3 separate regions of the Homo sapiens genome follow, and all the other regions are linked to region 3. Evidence: promoter capture Hi-C in 16 types of primary human blood cells and fetal thymus (Javierre and others, 2016). All regions are on one chromosome and are shown on one strand. Each heading gives the region's core, a stretch centred on a gene start or on the middle of the fragment in contact. The rest is flanking DNA. Distances are from core to core; before and after follow the strand shown.

Region 1 (3,116 bases), core at 249-2,748, 1.0 Mb after region 3:
GGAATTTATGTGGTCAAGAGGGAAAGAACAGGGAATGCTAGCAAGTATCCATAAGCAATATAATACAGGTGGCCACAAGTATGCCCCAATGATATGACGGTGAACTGGAGTTCCAAAGCCAATAAGGGAAATTAAGTAAAAACCATTATTAACAAATCAATCAGTCAATCAATCAGTCTGTCCATTTCCCTGTCCTTGCCTGTCTCCTTAGTTCTAAATCGAGGAGAAATGAAGCATAGACAAATTGATGATCACTTAAGTACACAAATCCGCAGAAAGGCAACGTCTTCTAGGTAAGTAACAATTTTTGTTGGACAAGTGCTAACAAAGGCTGATTCTACTGTTTAATGGCAGGTGCCTCTTAAGGAGAGGTGGGCTTCTTTGAATGTGAATTAATAGATTCTGGTGTTTTCTAAATCTAAAGCTTGAGTTTTTTAAACTAAAGGCATTCAATATTTCCAAGTTTACCAACCCCTGAATGCAGAGTAAATATGAGGGTATCTTATAGGTAATTATTATACTCTGAGCTTGAGACAAAAGTTTTCCTTGCCCTACTTTGCTAACAAACTTCTAAGACATATGCGTAAGCATTTATTTATAAAAATACTATTTATTTTTTAATAGAGATGGGGTCTTGCTATGTTAGCCAGGTTGGTCTTGGACTCTTGGCCTCAAGCAATCCTCCCACCTTGGCTTCCCAAAGTGCTAGGATTACCGGCGTAAGCCATTGCACCCAGCCTACTTATTCTAAAATGTGGGAAAATAAGTTTTTGGTTTTCTTTTGAGACAGGGTCTCATTCTGTCGAGTGAGTAGGGTGGAGGCTGGAGTATGGTGGCGTGATTCAGCTCACTGCAACCTCTGCCTCCTAGGCTCAGGTGATCGTCTTACTTCAGCCTCCAGGTGCATGCCACCACGCCCAGCTAATTTTTGTTTTGTTTTGTTTTGTTTTGTTTTGTTTTGTTTGTTTGTAGAGATAGGGTTACACCATGTTGTCCAGGCTGGAAATGAGCTTTTTCAAATAGGAAAATGATTAGGTAGTATCTAACTTTATTTTTAATGATGGTGATAAAGACAGGAGATATTTAAATACTATGGTTTAACAGGGAATTGACCTAAGGGCCATCTAACAAAAGAACTACTTGACAAATCCAAACTTGTCTCAGACTTCAGTGCAAGGTATCTAATCCTCTGTAATTTTAAATTCTTGCTGGATCTCTGAAGCATGTGACAGTACCCAAGTACTGTTTCTCACATACTGGTTATATGACATCCCAAAAGAATCCTATCTCCTCGTTCTCTTAGACAACTAGTCTTTGCAAAACAAACTTTAAGACATATCTTTTAAGTTTTACTGAAAGAATTGCACTGAACAATTGTCCAACTAAAATCTTATAAAATAAATAATAAGGCACTGGAGTTAATCATTACAAAAGAACATAGGATACATTTTCATTTAAGAAGTCGTTACTTTCCGTCTTTATGGAGGAATATAGAGCTATCATTGTAATGCCCCACTTAAGTCACAAATCATTACAAAAAATGAGTAAGATTTAGTAAGTACGAATTCTATTAATGGTGCTTATGATTTTATATAAAGTGAAACTTGTTATTAATTAGTTCTTCATTATGTGATTTCTGTCTCTTTATGAAATTAGTGGAAGAAATAAAATTGTTAACATTTTTGGATGAGACTACAGTCTGAAGTTCAGATTATGGTTCTTCTATTATTTTGGACAAGCTGTTAAAATTCGTATTCATTTCTTATACTTTCACTGCTGCAATTTATTGACTGCCTTGACAGAATATGATGTAAAAGGAAATTTCAGAAGATTGTGACTTTTTATATCAGAAAAGAGGAAGAGAAACCTATTTTGAAAGGACCTAGAATAATATTAAAAATGAAAGGCTGAAACAAATGGCTCATTCTTGCTTCTCATTATTTAAAACAAAATACCATAATTATTTTTCTAATTTCCAGAGAAACTCCCTCACTAATTTCATTATTTCAAGCCCACACCTAAGATGAAGTTAAACTGAAGTTAACATCAAACAGGTATGTATGTTATCTAATGTCCATTTTTCCAGTGCTTTTATCCTTCTCAATTACAGAGCATACTACATCCTCGTTCAATAATAAATATAAATTAGAAGACAGTAGCATTCAATGAAATCACATCGTAATAACCACTAATGTTTATTAAGCACTTAATACTTGCCATGCACTGAGCTAAACAGATTATCTAAAAAGATGAATTTAATCCTCATGACAAATAATCCCGACAGATTAATGTATTGATATTTTCATTTTACATACAGATAAGGAAACTGAGGCCTAGCAAAATTATGTGGCCACACAGCTATTAAGTGATAAAATCAGGCAACATAATGAAGTATTTGAAAGTAACCATAGTTAGGGACATGATTCATTTCTCTCCAAAGCTAGAAATATGTCTGGTCAGGTACTGTGGAAAGGTCTGGTCTTCACCTGCTGCACAGCTTTAGCAGATTTTATAGTAATAGTGGCAAGATCCCTCAATCATTAAAGAGTAAGCAATTGTTACTTAAGCTTTATACCTTTAGGTAGATTCTTTCAAATGGATAAACACTTACATAACAAGAACCAAGAGTCAAATGAATCCCAGAGGTAAGGAACAAGTGTGATGTGGGAGGATATTAGTTTTATGAGGATTTGAAAAACTGCAGTTATTCCTAAGGGAGGCACCACCGGCACTTGTGTGTGTGTATGCAAACGACTGTGTAGAAGACAATTCCCTTTATGTTGTACAGCGCTGTCACATATGTCACAATACATTTAGTATCCGTTAACTGCTCCCCCTCCCAAATACTAGAAGTTCTCTCAATCCTTGTGACTACCCAATATATATATCCCTACACATGTTCTGCTGACCCTGACAGAGAACCTTGATTGTTGGATAAAAATACTGGGAGAGAAGTAACTGACATGAATTGTACATTGTGCTCCAGGGACTCTGCTAAATGCATTCACACACATTCATTTAATTTTCATAACCCTATATAAGTAGATATTTCATCCCCATTTTACGAGTGTGGCCCCTGAGGCTCAGAGCAAGGTTATGCAACTTAATTAAGGACA
Region 2 (2,943 bases), core at 180-2,679, 1.0 Mb after region 3:
GAAACCCCGTCTCTACTAAAAATACAAAAATTAGCGGGCATGGTAGTGTGTACACCTGTAGTCCCAGCTACTCAGGAGGCTGAGGCACGAGTCATTTGAACCCAGGAGGCAGAGGTTGCAGTGAGCCGAGATTGTGCCATTCAGCCTGGGTGACAGAGGCTGAACAACAAAAAAAAGGGTGAAAAAAAACAAACAAAAAAAACCCAAAACCTTTTCTGACCTAACCTTCCACTAAAATAGCTAGATATAGATCTTCAGCTGGAGAAACCCAAGGCCTGAAAGGCTTGGTGTCTTTCCTGGATTAGTAGTGTAGCAGTATAGCATATGACCCTAGAATTAAGGAGCCCCAAATTTGCATCTGGATTTTCAGATTCTGGAAGAAGAACCTGGACTCTTCTAGTCATGTGCTCTTGGACAAGTTATTCAACCTTTCTGAGCCTCAGCTTTCTCCTCTCTACAATGAGATAATTACAGTACTTTTAGAATTAAAAGATAGTTTAGGGGAGTGAGAGATCACCTCCAACCCTCCCTCCCCTTTGCTCTTATGTGGGCTCTTTGGTTGAATCTAGGAACCAAATTGACACATGGCAGATTAACAAGAGAAAAGCATACTAATTTTACTAGTTTTACATGTACATGGGGATCCGCACAAAAGAGTGAAGTGGCCAATGTAAGATGCCTTTATACTTTTTACACGAACTACAAATCAGAAGAAAGGGGATCTGGCTAGGGGCAGTAAATTTCTCGCGGAGTCATTAGGAGAAAAGTGTGTGTGTTGGGGTGTAAACTTAGTGGAAGATAACGGTTACTTCGGAAAGTATATTCAGGTCCAAAGCAGCCCCCAGTTTCGTCTCTGGTGATAGGTGCTATTTTCTCCCTCTGGTAAGGGACGGGTACTCCAGAGGAATCCTGGAGGAAGCTTTATGGCTTGCTGCATGCAGGAAGAGATAGGTCATCAAACCTTTTCTGAAACTACAATTTCTCCAATATTTTCAACTCGAAATAATCAATGTACCAATTCCATATATTTTTGGGATGGCACATCCATCAGTCCTTCAATAGAAAGTAAGACGATGCCCTTAAAACATTTAGCTTCCTGCCTGGCACAAAGAGCTGAATTAATACTGTCCACGCTCCCATAGCTATTAACAGCAAATAACAGAACCCAGCTTTAAGCCTTGGTCTCCTAATTCCTGACCTGTGTTCTTCCCATCACATCACAACCAATACTTCTTAGAATGTAGCACGCAAAATGCCCCGCCTACTCCATTGGCCTCACCCTGGCCGAGAGGTGCTTACGCAGGTGCTGAACGGCAGTCGTCAGAACTGCGCCTGCGCAAGCGGCCTTTCTCTGTTCGCGATGTGACGTAACGCGCCTGCGGACTGGGCCCAGCTTGTCCTCTATGACTTACCCAGAAGGCAACGCTTCTCTTTCTGGTCAAAATGGCTGGTAAGCAGGCCGGTAAGTAACTGGGGGTCTTCTTGGCCGGCATCGTCGCGCTTCACCGTTTATTTTTGCTGCAGCTTGCTCCGTTTTCTCTCTTCTTTGTAAGTGGCCAAGTTTGTCGCGGAAGGGAAATTGGCTGCTTCAGTCCAGTGAAAAGGATGTGCTTCCCCACTCGTTTGCTGTCCCCAGGGCGGGCTTGCCTGTATAGGGTTGGGATGTTAACCCGCTGTTTGTGAAGGTGCCCGCGGTGGCTCTGACAGCCCTGGAGTTCCAGCTGCCCGTGCTTGGAAGTCCTTCCCCTTGGCCTTAGAAAAGTTAAAGGGCACAAGAGGATAACTAGTGGATGACTTTCAACCCGAATGAGCTCAGTGCTTTCTATGACCCAAGTGCTCTATCGTGTGCATTGGCCCTATAAATTTTCTTGCCATTGCGACGAGGGAGATATTAATTTCCCTTTTACGCTGATAAGATAACTGAGGCAAAGTGACCCAAGGAAGTAGAATTGGAAATATCATTGCACCCCTCGCGCTTCTCAAACTGCGAATCAGAGACAGTTGAGCAAGGGATACGAGCGACGCTTCAGGTTGACCTTGGATTATCTAGAGCGTCAGCTTGATCAGTAGGTTTGGAGAAATTTGAATTTATTGTAGGTTCTTTTTTTCTTTTTTCTTTCTTTTTTTTTTTTTTTGCTAATCTCTGCCCTCTGGCGGTACAAGTTGGAGTAGCCGTTTTGTTTGTTTGTTTGTTTTGTCTTTGAGACGGAGTCTTGCTTTGTCGCCCAGGCTGGAGTGCAATGGCACAATCTCGTCTCACTGCAATGCAACCAAGTTGGAGTAGCTTAAAAAATGTTGATCCTTTTCTCCCCGCCCCCAGCAATTGTGAAGCTGTTAGGAAACATCAGGTTGCCAGAAACATCCGTTAACCTAATTGACATTGAGCTTTTTGGGGGTGGGGGAGACTTTTTAAATAATTATTTTATTAATTTGGCAGATATTGAAGGAGTCTTACTAAATTCAAGACACTGCTTCTGTGCGTGTTTGGGAACTACATAGACCAGATCTCAACTCCCATTAGCTAACTCTGACCTTGGGTGGGATCACTTCTGTAAGCCAGCTTCCCCTTCTGTAGTAACAGACATGTAAATAAATCAGCTAATGTTGGTAAAGCAAATAGGAAAGTGTTTGGTGCACAATAAGTGCTTAGTGAATATTATTATAGTCACTGATAGGTGGTTGAATATAATCTGTCTTCCACAAGTATGTTTGTAGATTGTTGACTGATACTTGTTTTTCTAGCAGCAGTTTTATACATGACTCTTAATTTCCAAGGAGATTTGCTAAAGCCACGTAATCTGTAGTGCACTGAGTTTGCAAGCAAGGAGAGTTGAGTGAAAGGAGAGTTTGCTTTCCTTCCTTGGTAAGGGCTAACCCTAGACAAAATTTTAAAAGAGAATACAAACCTGTTCTACCTCTCCTTTTGTAAAATGTCTCTCCTAA
Region 3 (3,084 bases), core at 393-2,892:
TAAGAACAGCAAGGAAGCCAGTGTAGCTAGAGGTGGGAGAGAGGAGAGAGAAGATGAGGTCAGAGAGGTAACTCATGTAGTGGCAGATAGAAGACTTGCCAGATCATACAGGGCCTTGCAGGCTATTCTAGAGCTTTTGAGAAAATGAGGAATCACTTGTATTAGGCCGGCTTAAAATAGGGCCATCTGTATAAAAATAATTCCTCTTTAAATTGTTTCCTTAAACTTAGGGGTGTATACAAATCACCCAGGATCTTGTTAAAATTCAAATTCTGACTTAGTAGGTCTGGGGAAAGGCCTGAGATTCTGCATCTTTAACAAGCTTTCAGGTGATATCAGGCTGCTGGTCCACAACCACACTTTGAGTAATGAGGTCCCGGGGCTTTTGGGCTTATCTCTCCACTAGCTGGTTACAAGGGCCTTTTTGTTCCCTTTGAGCCTGAAAAGACCACCTCAAAAGGTTTTTCTTTATATTTTTACATTAGCCACAGGTCCCCTCACTGTTCATGGTCCTATTACCTCACTAGTAAGAGCGTGGTCCAGGGCTGCCTCCGGGACTGTGGGGGAGGTTGTCCGGCTGTTTCCATGCACAGTGTAAGAAGTTTCTAGGGCTTCTGCAGTGCCACGTGGAGGCTCTGCTTCTGAACCTCAATCTGCTCCCTGAATAATAATTTCACCTCTCACCACATTCTTGTCTTACTCCAATTACAGGAGCTCTAATACAGGTCTTCACTTCTGGTCCTATACCTAGAGTGATAGTCCAGATCTGTAAACTGAGGCAGCTGGGGGACTCGGGTGATGTTCCCAGGCAGAAGAGGTGGTCAGGTGGTCCACGGAAGCCTGTTTGTTAAGGAGCAAGGCTGATTTCTTAAGAGCCAGCCCAGTAATTGACAGTGGAACAAGTCTGGAAGGACTTGCCATTTCCAAATATAAGGCATAGGATACGGAGTCCCATGGGCTTGAGTTTGAATTGTGCTTCCATCCCTTACTGTGTAACCTGGGGAATGTGCCCGGGTGTCTCTGAGATGCAGTTTTCTTATCTCGAAAATGGGAATGATATCAACACCTCCTTTGTAAATTGAGATAATGCATTTAAAGCACCTAGTAAAGTGCCTGGCACAAATGATACAAAATACTAGTTGCCATTATTTTTATAATTTCTACTATCATCTTACTGCGTACCAAATCGCTTTGACGCCCGGCATTATAGCATCCACCTTTACGTTCTCTGGAGTTAAGGTACCAGAGCAAATCCCTCAGCAAAGGTGTTCAAAGAGAGACACACACGCCCGAGCACTTTCTTCATGACAGATGCCACAAGAGATAACTGGAGGAGCTGAAGATGTTTAGTTTAGAAAACAGGTGATGGGGGACAGGTGGTGATGGCTCTTAGCGTTGCCTTGTTCAACGAGACCCTGAGAGCACGATGAGCCCGCGCGGAAGAGATGAAATGGCAGCACCCCCGCGAGCGCATATCAGAGAAACTCGCCGAGACCTAAAGCGAGTCCGCGCGAGATGGGGGTGGGAGCGCCCGCGGGGGTCGTCTCCTGCGCAGCCGCAGCGGCGGCGCCAATCACCGGGCGCATCACGTCCTCTCGCGACGGTACAGTTGTACGTTCGTGACGTCGGCGGTTGCCGTGGAGAGACCCGCTCGGTCCCGACCGAGAGCTGGCGTCAGGAGCCGCAGGGTCACAGCGTGTCTTTGAAGCTGCCTCCGCCGCCACCATGAGCGGCCGAAGTCGGGGTCGAAAGTCCTCCCGCGCCAAAAACCGGGGCAAAGGCCGCGCCAAAGCCCGAGTCCGCCCTGCTCCGGACGACGCCCCGCGCGACCCGGACCCTTCACAGTACCAGAGTCTCGGGGAAGACACCCAGGCGGCACAGGTGCAGGCTGGCGCGGGGTGGGGTGGCCTGGAAGCCGCTGCGTCCGCGCAGCTCCTCCGGCTCGGGGAGGAGGCCGCCTGCCGGCTCCCCCTGGACTGTGGCCTCGCGCTGCGGGCCCGAGCTGCGGGGGACCACGGGCAGGCCGCGGCCAGGCCCGGCCCGGGGAAGGCCGCATCTCTCTCGGAGCGCCTGGCCGCAGACACTGTCTTCGTGGGAACAGCGGGAACCGTGGGAAGGCCGAAAAATGCCCCCCGCGTTGGAAACCGGCGTGGCCCTGCCGGGAAGAAGGCCCCAGAAACCTGTAGCACCGCGGGGAGGGGGCCTCAGGTCATAGCTGGTGGGAGGCAGAAGAAAGGGGCGGCAGGGGAGAATACCTCGGTGTCAGCTGGGGAGGAAAAGAAGGAAGAGAGGGATGCAGGGTCGGGGCCCCCAGCGACGGAAGGCAGCATGGATACGCTGGAGAACGTGCAGCTGAAGCTGGAGAACATGAACGCCCAGGCGGACAGGGCCTACCTTCGGCTCTCCAGGAAGTTTGGGCAGTTGCGACTGCAGCACTTGGAGCGCAGGAACCACCTCATCCAAAATATCCCGGGCTTCTGGGGGCAAGCATTTCAGAACCATCCCCAGCTAGCATCCTTTCTGAATAGCCAAGAGAAAGAGGTACTGAGCTACTTAAACAGCTTGGAAGTGGAAGAGCTCGGCCTTGCCAGATTGGGCTACAAAATCAAGTTCTACTTCGATCGCAACCCGTATTTCCAAAATAAGGTGCTCATCAAGGAATATGGGTGTGGTCCTTCTGGCCAGGTGGTGTCTCGTTCTACTCCAATCCAGTGGCTCCCAGGGCATGATCTCCAGTCCCTAAGCCAGGGAAACCCAGAAAACAACCGTAGTTTCTTTGGGTGGTTTTCAAACCACAGCTCCATTGAGTCTGACAAGATTGTGGAGATAATCAACGAAGAATTGTGGCCCAATCCCTTGCAGTTCTACCTTTTGAGTGAAGGGGCTCGTGTAGAGAAAGGAAAGGAAAAAGAAGGCAGGCAAGGTCCAGGAAAGCAGCCAATGGAGACTACTCAGCCTGGGGTGAGCCAATCCAACTGATCCTGCACAAGTCTCCCTGCTACCTCCTGCTGGGCTGCTCCTGGTTGACTACATATTTGGCTCTCTGCCTTCTCTTCATGTTGGCCTCTGTGTACTATAGACCCT

What was found. The method cuts DNA at HindIII sites, captures the fragments that hold promoters and counts their contacts. A CHiCAGO score of 5 or more calls a contact.
Region 1: a contact is called between a fragment that was not itself captured here and the fragment with the promoter of TSPYL5 in region 3, in 2 of 17 cell types (naive B cells and total B cells). The highest score is 7.2, in naive B cells.
Region 2: a contact is called between the fragment with the promoter of UQCRB here and the fragment with the promoter of TSPYL5 in region 3, in 4 of 17 cell types (fetal thymus, naive B cells, total CD4 T cells and 1 more). The highest score is 10.1, in fetal thymus.

Annotation. Positions count from the first base shown.
Region 1 is chr8:96,263,433-96,266,548 of GRCh38, reverse strand. All of the region lies in intron 1 of PTDSS1 (phosphatidylserine synthase 1), which reads right to left. LOC105375652 (a long non-coding RNA gene) reads left to right here. Exons shown (of 3, transcript XR_928431.3): 2 at 212-293; 3 at 1,657-1,743. Among named protein-coding and RNA genes, the nearest start is that of PTDSS1, 3.1 kb to the right of the region's middle. The HindIII fragment of the contact is 2,143 bases long and covers 427-2,569 here.
Region 2 is chr8:96,234,031-96,236,973 of GRCh38, reverse strand. It overlaps UQCRB (ubiquinol-cytochrome c reductase binding protein), which reads left to right and starts at 1,429. Exons shown (of 4, transcript NM_006294.5): 1 at 1,429-1,462. The coding sequence starts at 1,444. UQCRB-AS1 (UQCRB antisense RNA 1) reads right to left here and starts at 1,681. Exons shown (of 2, transcript NR_183275.1): 1 at 1,413-1,681. RefSeq lists an enhancer at 1,423-1,702. The HindIII fragment of the contact is 3,599 bases long and covers 922-2,943 here.
Region 3 is chr8:97,276,486-97,279,569 of GRCh38, reverse strand. TSPYL5 (TSPY like 5) reads left to right here and starts at 1,642. Exons shown (of 1, transcript NM_033512.3): 1 at 1,642-3,084. The coding sequence starts at 1,726. The coding sequence ends at 2,979. The region is part of intron 2 of LOC101927066 (a long non-coding RNA gene); the gene reads left to right. RefSeq lists an enhancer at 2,104-2,605. The HindIII fragment of the contact is 4,352 bases long and covers 325-3,084 here.